2 separate regions of the Homo sapiens genome follow, and region 2 is linked to region 1. The links are contacts of gene promoters, found by promoter capture Hi-C in blood cells and fetal thymus (Javierre and others, 2016). All regions are on one chromosome and are shown on one strand. The core of a region is centred on a gene start or on the middle of the fragment in contact, and the rest is flanking DNA. Distances in the headings are between cores, read along the strand shown. Region 1 holds the start of CHPT1 (choline phosphotransferase 1). Region 2 has its middle 36 kb from the start of MYBPC1.

Region 1 (5,184 bases), core at 1,610-4,109:
TAATGGCGTTTCCCCTCCCTGCATCAGTCACTCAGAAGCATATGAAGGTTCTAGTGACATACATTTCAGAAACTCTTGTTTTTAACTCTCATTTACCCTTCTTGGGCCATTTGATTTTGCACTTTATTTTTAAATGCCTCCAATCCCCACCCTCCACCCTTTTTTTTTTTTTTTTCACATGAGGCTGATCCTAAAAACTAATTAATCATAAACGTACCTCTTCCATCAGGCCTCCCTTTACTTCCCTAGGCAGAAGCTCTTGACTTTTTTGGTAAGCCCTGCTCTTTCTAAGTGTTCAACAAATGCTTCTTAAATTAATAATAACATTGAAGAGTCCACAACTTAACTGGCCAATATCAGAAACATTCAAATGCTGTTAGCTAAATCTGGACCCAATCAAAACTAAATTTTATTATGTGTTTTCAGGATGTTGTCTGATAACAGTAATATTTTTAATGTGTTGAGTGATATTTTTAATTTGTTAGGCACATCGCAATCTTTTACATTTATCTGCATATATATCATTTGGTCCTCACTGCATCCTTGTCAAGTTGTTTTGGCAGGCATTATTTTCTATTGTATCTGTGGGAACACAGACCCAGCAGGTCTGTGGTGGAAGAGCCAGTTAGAAACCAAGACCTCCACTTCCAACCCAGCTATCCTTTCATTCTAACACACTCCCTCTGGTAAATTCTAGAAACAGGCAGCAAAACAGCCAAAAACTAAAGCAGCTTACTTTTTCATATGTAATATGTAAATGAATAGCAATGGCAAATGACAATGGGAATGTCTATTAAGAAATATATAATAAGCCTGGCGCAGTGGCTCACTCCTGTAAATACCAGCACTTTGGGAGGCCGAGGCAGGCGGATCACTTGAGGTCAGGAGTTCGAGACCAGCCTGGCCAATATGGTGAAACCCCGTCTCTACTAAAAATACAAAAATTAGCCGGGCGTGGTGGCAGGCACGTGTAGTCCCAGCTATTCAGGAGGCTGAGGCAAGGGAATCGCTTGAACCCAGGAGGCAGAGGTTGCAGTGAGCCGAGATCACCACATTGCCCTCCAGCCTGGGTGACAGAGCGAGACTCTGTCTCAAAAAAAAAAAAAAGAAAAGAAATACATAATAAGCATACCAATCCATTGACAAGATATTTTAAAATGTAGGCTCGATCAAATTTTTGTTTTTAAAGGATGCATGAGCCTGGCCAACATGGTGAAACCTTGTATCTACTAAAAACACAAAAGTGAGTCGGCCGTGGTGGCACGCGCCTGTAATCCCAGCTACTTGGAAGGCTGAGGCAGAAGAATCGCTTGAACCCTGAAGGCGGAGGTTGCAGTGAGCCGAGATCGAGCCACGGCACGGCACTCCAGCCTGGGTGACAGAGTAAACCCCTGTCTCAAAAACAACAACAAAATGGATGCATGCATGGAGGGCATGAAATATTTCCACTGTATTTCTGTTAATCCAACCTCAACCTCCATGAGTCCTCCACAAGGCCTACACTCAAATGATTATAAAGGGACTTCACTATTTGGAGCAGAGAATAGAAAGTAATGTCACAGAATGTGCAATGTAATATTTATCCCACGTAGTATAAACTATAGATGGGAGTGAACTCCACTCTGCCCCCTATCCCTCCACACTCAGCCCAAAGGGTGCTTCTGATGAACAGCTATCCAAAGCCTATATTTACTCCTTATTTTGTACAAAGGTCAAATGTAATTATTGCTAATAAAATGTTGGGGTTTTTTTAATCCCTAGGTTGTGATGACAAAAAAATTATTGCCTTGATAACATTCCAGTTTGTTTTTCTTGAAAAAGTCGATGAAGCAAAGAGGAAGTTACCTCTTAACTCATCTTTGATCAGTGCTACCGGTCATTTCAAGATCACTAGCTCAACCTTCCAGAAACGAACGGTTACGAAAGTATTCAAAGGGCGTCTCGGGCTTGGCACAAGTCCCTGTGCCAGGCAGGACGGAGATGGGGGTGTTCAGTCCCCAGTGTGCAAAGCACCCGACCGCGGGTCCGTCTCACAGGTTGGCGCCGCATGGGATAGCGGCTGGGCAGGCGCCCTCCGGCCCGTCCGCGGCCGTGGGGAGGATCTGCGCGGACATAGGACCTGGGGCAGTGACCTTAACAGCCCCTCCGCTGCCCAGGGGAGGCTTGGGATGGTCACGGGATTGGGATAGTGGCGTGACAGTCTCCAGGCGGCCCAGGGCGGACACCGCCCGGGGCAGTGGCCAGTCCGCCCCTCCGGGGCCCGGGAGAGGCTCAGCCGCGCGTGGGTCCGCCCTTCCCCCGGCGCCTCCAGCGACCCGCCCGCAGCGCATCTGGGGCCCGGCTCGGGCGATCGGCCAGCCCTACCTCTTCGGTGGCCGTGGGACAGTAGGAGATGAGCACGAGCGTGGTGACCACGTTGACGGCGAGCCCCAGCAGGGTGATGGAGTTGGGGGCCATCCAGAGCGGGATCCACTGGAGCAGCCAGGTCCAGTAGAGCTGCAGCGGCGGCTCGAGCAGCGAGACGCCCGCCGCGCTGTAGCGGTGCTCCTCCAGTCGCCGCAGCTGCGCCGCGCTCAGCGGCTCGCTCAGCGCCCTCAGCCAGCGCGGCGCGGACCCGGCCCCGGCGCCTGCCGCCATGGCCGCCTGAGGGCCCCGCCGCCGCCACCGAGCGCAGCCCGCGCCTGGCGCTGGGGGCAGGGAGAGGTGGAGGGAGAGGCTGGCGGCCGGGTCCTGCGACTGCCGGGCTGGACTCACCGGTCGGGCCCGCACGGCGGAGGTCGAGGTCAGGCCGGCCTGCCCGGCTGCCGGGGCCCCAGCCCCAGAAGCTGTGGGGCCGCGGCTGCGGCTCGCGGGTGGGGCGGGGCCTCGGGGAGGGGTCCGGCTGGGGGCGGGGCGGAGGGGGTCCTGCTAGGGGCGGGGAGGCGGGTGCCGCGCTCGCGGGTCACCCTCGGCGCCCGCCAACGGCAACTTGTTATCGGCGATCAAGGTCCTTGACTCCCCAGGGGCCGGCTGCACTGCGCCTGAGGTCTGATGTCTTAACCCACGGCGTCGGATTACGCCCTGAGGTCGTCTCCTCGCGGGCTGCACCACGACCGAGCCGGTTCCTCTCCTAGGGGTCGGAACACGACTCCGGTCGCCCAGTGTTAGCCACTGCAGGACCACGCTGCCCGCAGAGCCTGGGGGTTTTCGTGTGAGAACACAGTTTTGCAGGGCTCGGGTCACGGGGGTGACGGCCCCATCTGTCCTGCTTGGTAAAACACACAAGCACAATTCTCCCTTTCTGTACGGAGGAAGGCGGCCCTGCCATGTATTCGCTCTAGAGACCCATCACTGCGGATTCAGAGACCAAGGTTTTGAAACTGAAAATCAGGGCTTAGAAACACTAACAAGGAGACCGAATGGCTGAAACCCCGATACCTATTTTCTTCAGCGCATTTGATACCAACAAGGGTGAATATTTTTACACATACTCTTCCCTGGAATAAAGGGCAGGAGTGTCCTCCCCCTGCAAGGGGGAACAGGCTGGCTTGCCACACGCATTGGTAGGTCACCGGCCCCTTATCTCACAGTGCACTCACTTGGACAGGGGACATCTGTCATAAACACGTTCTGTTGCACAACCTGAGACAGGCCTGTCACTTGCTTTGCTCTTCACTTCATGGCTCTGATCTGCACGCACTTTCTAAGGCCTAGGACAAGCCAGAAATTGCTTCCAAGACACTTGTGTGGCGCAACCTCTATCGGCAAGTGCAGTTTGCCTCACGGGCTTCGTCAAACACTTGGCACAGGGGTCCACGAACTGCTGCCTGTGTGCCAGACCCAGCCCACCACCTGTTTTCCTACAGCCCTCCAGCTAAGTATGGTTTTGACATTTTTAAATGATTGGAAAAAATCAAAAGAATACAATTTTGTGTTGTGAAATTATATGAAATTCAAAGTTCAGTGCCACGAATAAAGCCATGTTTATTCCTTACCTATTGTTTGGCTGCCTTCATGCTACAAGGGCAGCAGAATTCAGTTGTGACAGACCGTATGGCTGGCAAAGCCTGGACTATGTCCTACTAGGCCCTTTAAGGAAAAAACTGGCAACCACTGCCTTAGAGCAATGAGGGTCTCTACAGACCAAGCGTATATGTCTTAGGAATATGGATCTCCTCATCTTTAGTGTGAAAAACGATGCTGACAAATGCAGGAAAGGAAATGGAATGATGGAGATCCACTTTTAACAATGCTGGTTTATGTGCAGTGAACTTGACAGTAACTACTTTTTAATTTACCGATGCCATGAACAGTCCAAGGAAAAAATCCTTTTCTAGATTAGCCGATTTCACTGTATTAAAGATAATTTTTAATGTACATCAAAAGACGTCATCAAGAGAATGAAAAGACAAGCCATAAACTGGGAAAAGGTATTTCCCTCAAAACCCACAATGAGTAGAACCCAGATTATGTAAAGAACTCCTAAAAATCAATCAGAATAAAAAATAATCAACTGGGCTATGTTCTGTTTCTATAGGAGAAGCCCTGGAACATGGTAATGTTCCAGGGTGCACTTATGAACATGAGTGAATTGCACAAGCATATGTTGACTGAAAAAAAAAAAGAAGCAGGTGTATTAGTCAGCTTGGATTGTCATAACAAAATACCACAGACTGAATAGCTTAGACAACAGGAATTTATTTCTCTCTCACATAAAAGAAGTACAGAATTGGCACTCCAAGACTGGTACGATGTTTCCATGGTCATCAGGAACTCAGGCTTTTCTGTCTCTCTGCTCCAATATCCTCTCTGACTTGTATCTATAAGGCCATCTCATGATTCAGAATGGCTGGTGAAGCTCCAGTCATCTTATTTGTGTTTCAAGCAGCAGGAAGGAGTAAGAGGACAGGAAAAACAAAAAGTAGATATCACTGGCTGGTGAGCAAACTGGGGTGCCTCTCCAAAACTCCCAAACAACACTTCTCCATACAGTAGTCTCCCTTTGTCCCTGGTTTTACTTTTCTGCAGTTTTAGATACCCACAGTCAACCACAGTCCAAAAATATTAAATAGAAAATTCCAGAAATAAAGTGTGAGTTTTAAATTGCATGCCATTCTGAGTAGCGTGATGAAATCTCACCCAGTCCCACTCTTCTCCACTCAGGACTTACATCATCTCTTTGTCCAGTGTATCCCTGCTATATAA
Region 2 (4,832 bases), core at 2,096-4,595, 140 kb after region 1:
TTGGTCTTTCTGGCAAGACATCCTAGAAGACTGTATTTTGCTAAGACTGCAACTGCCAGCCACAAGCTTGATGAGCAGCCTAGGGAATGTGGTACTATTCTGGGAGGAGGGTGTGTGTGTGTGTGTGTGTGTGTGTGTGTGTGTGTGTGTGTGTGTGTAGGGAATGTGGGGGAGACATAATAAACACTTGTATAAAGCCTACCACAAATCATTACTTTTTATTGTCAAAGAGTAGGCTAAACAATTTTGTTTCTTGGATTTGCTTTCAATATGATATAGTTACTTAAGCTATTATGTAATTAAATAATTAACCACCTTTAAAGTAAAGTATCAGGTGGGTGCACTGGATCCCACCTGTAATCCCAACCCTCTGGAAGGCAGAGGTGGGAGGATTTTTTGAGGCCAGAAGTTCAAGACCAGCCTGGTCAACATAGCGAGACCCTGTCTTGTTTAAATAAAAATTTTAAAATAAAAAAAAAGAGCTTCTGCACAGCAAAAGAAACTATCACCAGAGTGAACAGGCAACCTACAGAATGGGAGAAAAATTTTGCAATCTACCCAACTGACAAAGGTCTAATATTCAGAATTAACAAGGATCTTAAAGAAATTTACAAGAAAAAAACAAACAACCCATCAAAAAGTGGGCAAAGGACATGGACAGACACTTCTCAAAATAAGACATTTATGTGGCCAACAAATACATGAAAAAAAGATCAACATCATTAATCATTAGAGAAATGCAAATCAAAATCACAATGAGATACCATCTCACTCCAGTTAAAATGGCAATTATTAAAAAGTCAAGAAACAACAGATACTGGTGAGGCTTTGAGGAAATAGGAATGCTGTTACACTGTTGGTGGGAATGCAAATTAGTTCAACCACTGTGGAAGACAGTGTGGTGATTCCTCAAGGATCTGGAACCAGAAATACCATTTGACCCAGGAATCCCATTACTGAGTATGTACCCAAAGAAATATAAATCATTCTATTATAAAGATACATGCACATGTATGTTTATTGCAACACTATTCACAATAGCAAAGACATGGAATCAACCCAAATGCCCATCAATTATAGACTGGATGAAGAAAATGGGCCGGGCACGGTGGTTCACGCCTATAATCCTAACATTTTGGGAGGCAGAGGCGGGTGGATCACCTGAGGTCAGGAGATCGAGACCAGCCTGGCCTACATGGTGAAACCCCCATCTCTACTAAAAATACAAAAAAAAAAAAAAATTAGCCGGGTATGGTGGCAGGTGCCTGTAATCCCGGCTACTTGGGAGGCTGAGGCAGGACAATCACTTGAACCTGGGAAGCGGAGGTTGCAGTGAGCTGAGATCGTGCCATTGCACACCAGCCTGGGCAACAAGATCGAAACTCCGTCTCAAGAAGGAAAGAAAGAAAGAAAGAAAGAAAGAAAGAAAGAAAGAAAGAAAGAAAGAAAGAAAGAAAGAAAGAAAGAAAGAAAGAGAAAGAAAGAAAGAGAAAAAGAAAGGAAGGAAGGAAGGAAGGAAAGAGAGAGAGAGAAAGAAAGGAAGGAAGGAAGGAGAAAAAAAGAAAAGAAAGGAAAGGAAAAGAAAAAAGAAAAAAAAAGGAAGGATATATGGTACATATACACCATGGAATACTATGCAGCCATGAAAAGGAATGAGATCATGTCCTTTGCAGGGACATGGATGAAGCTGGAAGCCATCGTCCTCAGCAAACTAACACAGGAACAGAAAACCAAACACCACATGTTCTCACTCATAAGTGGGAGCTGAACAATGAGAACACATGGACACAGGAAGGCAAATAACACACACCAGTGCCTGTAGGGATGGTGGAGTGGAGGTGGGGAGAGCATCAGAATAAATCACCAGTGCATGCAGGGCTTAATACCTAGGTGATGGGTTGATAGATGCAGCAAACCACCATGGCACACGTTTACCTATGTAACAAACCTGCACGTCCTGCACACGTATCCTGGAACTTAAAATAAAATTAAATTAAAAGAATAAATAAATAAAATAAAGTATCAATAAAATTAAAGAGACAAATAATTCAATGTTAAAATACCAACTACTGACATTTACAAAATTTTAAGACCTTTTGCTTTTAATCATTGTGTAAGTAATTTTTGTAAAATTAAGATCGAGCAACATATCCTAATCTGCCTTTTCAAGTAACAGTAACTTACAGAGTTTTCCATTCACATATTCATTTACTTATTCATTTCATAAGTTATAAAGTGGTAGTAATCATAATGATATGCATATCTCATTTAATCCTCAGAGCAAATCTATGAGCTAGACACTATTGCTATTGCCATTTCTAAATAAAGACATCAAAGCTCACAGATAAGCAACGTGCCTATGGTCACACAGCCAGCAACTAGTAGAGCCAGAACTCAAACACATGCCCAACAGATACCATACTTCTGGCCTCTACTATTCTATTGCTCTATGACTTAGTACCTTGTGGTTTGCTTAACTACTGCCTGCTTTTCAGCCATGTGGGTTTTCTATAGCACTGCCGTAGAAACATTCATACCCTTTTTTATTTATTTATTTTTTATTATACTTTAAGTTCTAAGGTACATGTGCACAACGTGCAGATTTGTTACACATGTATAAATGTGCCATGTTGGTGTGCTGCACCCATTAACTCATCATTTACATTACGTATATCTCCTAATGCTATCACTCCCCGCTCCCCCCACCCCACGACAGGCCCCGGTGTGTGATGTTCCCCACCCTGAGTCCAAGTGTTCTCATTGTTCAATTCGCATCTATGAGTAAGAACATGCGATGTTTGGTTTTCTGTCCTTGCGATAGTTTGCTCAGAATGATGATTTCCAGCTTCATCCATGTCCCTAAAAAGGACATGAACTCATCCATTTTTATGGCTGCATAGTATTCCATGGTGTATATGTGCCACATTTTCTTAATCCAGTCTATACATTGATGGACATTTGGGTTGGTTCCAAATCTTTGCTACTGTGAATAGTGCTGCAGTAAACATACATGTGCATGTGTCTTTATAGCAGCACGATTTATAATCCTTTGGGTATATACCCAGTAATGGGATCACTGGGTCAAATGGTATTTCTAGTTCTAGATCCTTGAGGAATTGCCGCACTGTCTTCCACAATGGCTGAACTAGTTTACGTCCCACCAACAGTGTAAAAGTGTTCCTATTTCTCCACACCCTCTCCAGCACCTGTTGTTTCCTGACTTTTTAATGATTGCCATTCTAACTGGTGTGAGATGGTATCTCATTGTGGTTTTGATTTGCATTTCTCTGATGACCAGTGATGATGAGCATTTTTTCCATGTGTCTTTTGGCTGCATAAATGTCTTCTTTTGAGAAGTGTCTGTTCATATCCTTTGCCCACTTTTTGTTGGGGTTGTTTGTTTTTTTCTTGTAAATTTGTTTAAGTCCTTTGTAGATTCTGGATATTAGCCCTTTGTCAGATGGGTAGATTGTAAAAATTTTCTCCCATTCTGTAGGTTGTCTGTTCACTCTGATGGTAGTTTCTTTTGCTGTGCAGAAGCTCTTTAGTTTAATTAGATCCCATTTGTCAATTTTGGCTTTTATTGCCATTGCTTTTGGTGTTTTAGTCATGAAGTCCTTGCCCATGCCTATGTCCTGAATGGTCATACCATTTTTTTTTTTAAGGAAAGAAGTCATAAAGAGAAGAGATGTAGCTATTTCTTTGGCTATATCCCAAAGAGAGTATAATTCATTTAATCCTCCCCATAATGATTCCACTGATTTTCAAGGTCCCCAAATATCTGTCCACATACCAGTTTCTCAACGGACCGCCAACACGGAGGATTCTTTTTCTCAACAGTTTATACCTCCAACCTCAAGGTAACTAATGGTAACAGTTGATGTGTATCCTTCCACACATTTTTCTATTTTGGACAAATACATTTGTGCATATGTAAGCCTTTTCCTTTTTCCTTTTTAAATATTTGAATGTGCTGGGTGCCATGGCTTGTACCTATAATTTCAGCTACTTGGGAGACTGAGGCAGGAGGATGACTTGAGCCCAGAAGTTTAAGGCTGCAGTGAGCTCTGATCATGCCACAACACACCAGCCCAGGCAACAGAGCAAGACCCCATCTCTGAGGGAAAAAAAAATGTTGAATAGATTGAACTATGCACATTATAGTACAAATTTTTGATTTCCCTCAATATATCTCGAATATTACTAAGGCAATACATATAGCACTAATTCACTATTTTTATTAGTGTGAATATATAAAAATTTTTCATTTTTTCCATCTTATTGGTCATTCGAGTTGCTTCCAAAATTTTTGCCCAAATAATGCTTCAGTAAACATCCTTATATGAATAGCTTTATATTCTGGTACTTTCATTTATTTAGGAGAGACTTCAGGAAGAACAATTCCTGGGTAAAGGGGTATCATATTTTTTATTTTGGTGCATACTGCTACGTTTCCTTCCCCAAAACTTGTAGTAACTCAAAGTCTTAACAGCAACATATCGCAATGTCTATTGCACAATATCTTTGTCAGCACTGAATGCTACCAATATTTTAAATATTTCCCCCAATATTTTCCCCCCAAAATGGTATCTTATTATTATTATTTTTTGAGATGGAGTCTCGCTCTGTTGCCCAGGCTGAAGTGCAGTGGCACAATCTCGGCTGACTGCAACCTCCATCTCCTGGGTTCAAGTAATTTTTGTGCCTCAGCATCCTGAGTAGCTGGGATTACAGGCGCATGCCACTCTGCCCAGCTAATTTTTTAATTTTTAGTAGAGATGCAGGTTTCACCATTTTGGCCAGGCTGGTCTCAAACTCCTGGCCTAAAATGA

Evidence for each region. The method cuts DNA at HindIII sites, captures the fragments that hold promoters and counts their contacts. A CHiCAGO score of 5 or more calls a contact.
Region 2: a fragment that was not itself captured here is called in contact with the fragment with the promoter of CHPT1 in region 1 in 3 of 17 cell types (naive B cells, total B cells and monocytes); the score reaches 6.5 in naive B cells.

Annotation. Positions count from the first base shown.
Region 1 is chr12:101,695,315-101,700,498 of GRCh38, reverse strand. CHPT1 (choline phosphotransferase 1) reads right to left here and starts at 2,859. Exons shown (of 9, transcript NM_020244.3): 1 at 2,365-2,859. The coding sequence starts at 2,637. It also overlaps a transcript of MYBPC1 not described here. RefSeq lists silencers at 2,126-2,315, 2,576-2,915 and an enhancer at 3,136-3,385. The HindIII fragment of the contact is 18,657 bases long and covers 1-5,184 here.
Region 2 is chr12:101,556,975-101,561,806 of GRCh38, reverse strand. No RefSeq gene overlaps it. Among named protein-coding and RNA genes, the nearest start is that of MYBPC1, 36 kb to the left of the region's middle. The HindIII fragment of the contact is 6,553 bases long and covers 69-4,832 here.